Linked DNA regions of Homo sapiens: region 2 is linked to region 1. Evidence: promoter capture Hi-C in 16 types of primary human blood cells and fetal thymus (Javierre and others, 2016). All regions are on one chromosome and are shown on one strand. The core of a region is centred on a gene start or on the middle of the fragment in contact, and the rest is flanking DNA. Distances in the headings are between cores, read along the strand shown. Region 1 holds the start of DLG3 (discs large MAGUK scaffold protein 3). Region 2 has its middle 4.3 kb from the start of PJA1.

Region 1 (2,859 bases), core at 315-2,814:
TGCTTGGACAAAAGAGTCCGTCCTTCTCAGCAGCCTCTCAGCCTTGCTTGGGACATGTCTCTCGCCTCCTTCCTCTCCCCTCCCTTGCCTGTCAAGCGCCTCTCACCAGAGACAACACATACAAACACACACTCACACACACACACCAGGCACACGCGTGCACACTCTTGCAGCCACATGCTCACACACATATACATGTAGCCACACACACAAACACAGCCATCCCTGCAGCCTCCTCTACAGAGACCTCTCCACATTCAGAGTGACATCTCCACACATCCATGTGCACATTCACACACAAAGGGACTGGGACGGAGAGGGACTCATGGCATCAAGGGATGAAGCTCAGCGAGCCGGGCACATGGGCTCCTCCACACGGATTCACGGCAGCTCCATTGCCTTCCTCCACACACCCCAACATACATACACACACATATGTCCCCCCTACGCAGAGCACCATGCCCCCTCCCCTCCCCTCCGGTGGAGACACACACCACACACAGCCCCCGCAGAACCTCCCGCCCCCTGCCAGACACAGAGACATTGCCAAACCCCCACACTGAGACAAACCCAATTCCCCCACACAGGAAAATGTGCCCCTCCGCCATGCCCTTACCCCCTGACACACGGCTCCTCCCAGTCTTCTAATGGAGACCCCCAAACAGACACACACAGGGAACCACACATTTCCCACCGCCTCTCTTTGCCCAGCTGCAATGCTAGGGCTCGGGGTCCACAGGCTTGGAGCCCCAGCGACCCCTACTGCATCCCAGGCCTCTAGGCCCCCACTCTCCAGCCCTCCTGGGTTGCCCCACCGCTCCCCCCTCCGCTGGTCCATACCTGCTCATACCAGTCCCGGTTGGTACAGGTGCACTCTGGCCACCAGCTGGGGCCGCTGCCGTTGAGTTTGGGGGTGCTCTTGCCCGGGACTGGCTTAGGAGGCACCGGCCCCACATCCCGGCCGGTGGGGATGAGCTTGGCCTTGGTGCGAGGGGTGGGGGTGGCCCCCGCCTGCGAGGGCAAGGTCTGCGAGCTGTAGCCCCCATAACCCGCGCTGGCGCCGTTGCCCCCACCTGGCCCGTAAGGGTCGGGGACTTGCCAGTCGCCGTAGCCCGGAGGCTCGAGGCGCCGCAGGGCGGCCAGGCGGGTCACCTCATAGCACTCAGGGCACTTACAGCAGTGCTGGTGCTTGTGCATGGCACTGCCCCCCGCGGCTCGGACCCCCCAGCCCACGCCGGATTCCACGCCGCCGCCACCGCCGCCACCACCGCCGCCGCCGCCGCCGGGCTCCCTGGCACACTCACACTGCTCGGACCAAGAAGGGGGGGGCACCCGTGGGGGCGCCCGGGCTGAGCGGGGCCTGGGGCCGGGCGGGCGTCCCGGGGCCTCGGCCCCCACGCTGCCCCGCACCCACGGCTCCCCCTCCAGCACTGGCGGCTCCGTGTCGCCCGTCGTGGCTTCTGGGCCGAGGCCCAGCGGCAAAGAAGAAGCGGGAGCTCAAGCAGAGAATGGGTGCTGTGAGGACCGCTTCTGCTCTGGTCCCCAGGATGGATCTGAGTGGAGTCAAGAGCATCTCTCCCTGGCTCCCTTCTCAGTTGATTCCAGCCAATCAGCGCGCAGAGGCAGGCAGCGGCAGCGGCAGCGGCGGCGGCAGGAATGCTAAACAGCGGCTACTTAAAGGAACAGAGGCAGCGGCGCCCCCAGGCTCAGCCCCAGCTCCCCCAATCTCTAGGGAACTGTTGGCTCTAAGGGCGGGGGCAGAGGACGTGGGCCACCAGAAAGCTCAGGCACCCGATCTTGTGCCCTTATATCGCCAGTTTTAGCCTGTCCTCTGCCCACTCCACCCCACCCCACTTCCAAGAGGGAGTTGCAGGGAGATGTTCAATGGGTCCCCAGGCTTGCTCTGAGCTGGGGCCACCAGAAGTAAAGACGAGGTAGCAGGATGGACAGAAAGGACGTTGGAGCAGGGTGAGGGAGGTGCTTTCTCTTACAGGGGACCAAAGAAGAAGGCAGCATATGAGGCCCGCTGTCCTGTCAATGCCTCCTACACAAGACTATTGTTCTCTCAGTCTCTAGGCCCTGAAATTACTGTGACCTCACACTTGACCTTCTACCATCACCAGTAAAGAACTCAACCCTAGAACAGGGATTAACAGAAAGCTCTAAGTCCTTGTCCCTGGCCCACAAACCCCTATCTCCTCCACTCCACCCCTGCATGGTTATGATGGGGGAAGGAACTTCAGGATATCAAGATGAAAGTCCAGGACAGGTGAAAAGGTAAGAAGGGATTTGAAGAGAGAGAAACCCTTCTATGGGTCTGGAATAGAGCTTAGGAATACTTGTCCAAGGACATCTCCTTACCCTCTCCTGGCTCAGCTTGTCGGGGGAATGGAGGAAGGATGACATACAAGAAAGACTATCTTTTTTGCAGTTCTTGTTTTGTTTTTAGCTACCAATTATTGGGTCTTTACAAAGTCCTAAGTGCATAACACGCAAACCCAAATCCTACCAAGCTGATGCTATTATTATCTTCATTTTACCAATGAGAAATTGAGGCTCAAAGATGTTAACACAGCTAGGTAACACAGCTGGAAGTGACAGAATCAGGATGCAAATCCTGATTATTTGACTCCAGAGTCCACGCTGTGAACCACTCTAGTACGACAGGTCTATTCTAAGTTCTCCTGCAGAATTTACATCTCAGTTCAATTCAGCAAATATTCATTGAGCACCTGCTCTGTGCAAGACCTTGACCTAGGTATTAGGGATACAGAGGTTCTTTTTTTTTTTTTTTTTTTTTTTTGAGATGGATTCTCATTCTGTCACCCAGGCTGGAGTGCAGTGGCGTGATCTCAGCTC
Region 2 (2,777 bases), core at 202-2,701, 1.3 Mb after region 1:
GAGGATTACTTGAGCCTGGGAGACAAGGCTGCAGTGAGCTGACATCGCACCACTGCAATCCAGTCTGAGTGACAGAGTGAGACCCTATCTCAAAAAAAAAAAAAAAAAAGGGCTGAACATCGTGGCTCACACCTGTAATCCCAGCACTTTGGGAGGCCAAGGTGGGTGGATCACCTGAGGTCAGGAGTTCAACACCAGCCTGGGCAACATGGTGAAACCCTGTCTCTACTAAAAAAATACAAAAATTACCCAGGTGTGGTGGGCGCCTGTAATCCCAGCTACTCAGGAGGCTGGAGAACCACTTGAACCTGGGAGGTGGAGTTTGCAGTGAGCTGAGATCGCACCACTGCACTCCAGCCTGGGTGACAGAGCAAGATTCCATCTCAAAAAAAAAAAAAAAAAAAAAACAGCAAGGGCATCAAATAGGGAATAGTTACAAGTATGGTAAATATTAATCCAACTATATCAATAATCACTTTAAATGTGAATGATCTAAATGCACCAATTAAAAGAGACTGTCAGAATGGATTTTAAAAACAAGATTTAACTATATGTTATCTACATGAAACCAACTTTCTAAAGACAAACTAAAAGTAAAGGGATTCAGAAATATATACCATACTAACAGTAATCAAAAGAAAGCCAGAGTAGCTATGTTAATTGCAGACACAGCAGATTTCAGAACAAAGAAAATTATTAGGGATAAATAGGGGTGTTATGTAATGAAAGAGGAGTCAGTTCTCCAAGAAGACACAACAATCTTTAATGTGTGTGTGCCTAACAACAGAGCATCAAAATACATGAGTCAAAAACTGATAGGACTTCAAGAAAAAATAGATGAATCCACAATTATAGTTGGAGACTTCAACACCACTCAATCAGTAATTGACAGATCCAGCAGGCAGAAAATCAGTAAAGATATAGTTGAACTGAATAGCACCATCAATCAACTGGATCTAATTGACATTTATAGACAACTTCATCCAACAAAAGCAGAATACACATTCTTTTCAAGCTCACATTGAACATTCACCAAGATTGACTACATCCTGGGCCATGAAACATGCCTCAACAAATTTAAAAGAATAGACATTATACAAAGTATGCTTTCAGACCACAATGAAATTGAATTAGGAATCAATAGAAGAATGGTAGCTGGAAAATCACATAATATTTGGGGATTAAACAATATACTTCTAAAGAAAACATGGGTTAGAGAAGAAGTGTCAAGATAAATTTTAAAATATTTTGAGATAAATTACCAAAATTTGTGGGATGCAGCAAAAGTGGTGCTTAGAGGGAAATTTGTAGCATTGAATGCATACATTAGAAAATAAGAAATACCTTAAATAAATCATCTAAGCTTCCATCTTAGGAAACTAGAAAATAAAACAGCAAATTCAGCCCAAAGTAAGCAGAAAAAAATGCAATAAAAATTAAAACAGGAATCAATGAAATTGAAAACAGAACAATAGTAGAGAAAAAGCAATACAATCAAAAGCTGGTTCTTTGAAAAGGTCAACAAGATTGAGAAGCTTGTAGCCAGACTGACCCAGAAAAAAAGAGAGTAAACAAAATTACTCATATCAGAAATTAGAGAGGAGCCATTGCTACTGACCTCATGGACATTAAAAGGATAATAAAAAGTATTATGAACAACTCTATGGCCACAAATTTGATTACTTAGATAAAATGAACAAATTCCATGGCTTGTTTTTAATGAATAGGATATGGCAAAAGTGATGAGATCTCACTTCTGAGATTAAGTTATAAAAAGACTGCATCTTTCCTCTTGGGATCTCTCTCTCTCTCTCTCTCTCTCTTTCTCTCTCTCCAGCTACCATGCTGTGAGGAGACTTAGGAAGCCTACGGATAGGTCCACACGACAAGGAATCAAAGTCTGACAACAGCCACATGAGTTAGCTTAGAAATGGGTCTTCTTTGGCCTGTCAACAACCATGTAAAAGAGCTTGGAAGTGGACCTCTTACCCTACTTGAGCCTTCAAATGAGACTGCAACCCTAGATGAGAGCTTGGGTGCAACCTCGTAAGAAAGTTTGAGTCAGAGGCACCTAACTAAGCCATGCCTGGATTCCAGACCCATAGAAACTGATATGATAAATGTTTGTTGTTTTTAGCTGCTATGTTTTAGGGAAATTTGTTACACAGCAATAGATACCTACTACATACTCTTTGACCAAGAAATTCTACTTCAATGTTTCCATACTAGAGCAATTTATTTCAATCCTTTTCACATCAGAACATATATTTAAAATGCTATCAGCTCACTGGAATAAACAGACAGTGTGCTCTTGGCCAGAGGCAACAGTCTCTAGGGGCAGCTGCTGAAGCCAAAGCTACCTTCCTGGAGAGCTAAGGGGATCAATATATCAGAACACTTATAACTCAGTTGGGAAGCTCTGCCCTGAAGAAACTCTTCTATGTAGGCACAAGGAGCCATGCACTAGGATGTTCATTGAATCCTCACTTATAATTGCACAAAACAGAAACAGTAGGAAAAGAGATAAATTGGATAACTTATGCAAAAGAAGTCCATACAATAATATGTTATAGTAATGTATTGGATAATTGATACAGTAATATTCAGCAGTTAAAATGCATGACTCAGATCTACAGGTATCAAAATTGCTGAGTTTCAAAAAACAACAGAGTGAAAATCTAAGTTGCAAAAGTATATATTTATAATGATACCATCTGTATAATTTAAATACATGAAACAAAATTGTGTATTGGTCACAGATATATATATGTAAATAT

The links. The method cuts DNA at HindIII sites, captures the fragments that hold promoters and counts their contacts. A CHiCAGO score of 5 or more calls a contact.
Region 2: a fragment that was not itself captured here is called in contact with the fragment with the promoter of DLG3 in region 1 in 1 of 17 cell types (naive B cells); the score reaches 5.2 in naive B cells.

What each region holds. Positions count from the first base shown.
Region 1 is chrX:70,443,540-70,446,398 of GRCh38, reverse strand. It overlaps DLG3 (discs large MAGUK scaffold protein 3), which reads right to left and starts at 1,564. Exons shown (of 19, transcript NM_021120.4): 1 at 841-1,564. The coding sequence starts at 1,197. RefSeq lists an enhancer at 1,260-2,046. The HindIII fragment of the contact is 21,076 bases long and covers 1-2,859 here.
Region 2 is chrX:69,168,393-69,171,169 of GRCh38, reverse strand. No RefSeq gene overlaps it. Among named protein-coding and RNA genes, the nearest start is that of PJA1, 4.3 kb to the right of the region's middle. The HindIII fragment of the contact is 172 bases long and covers 1,366-1,537 here.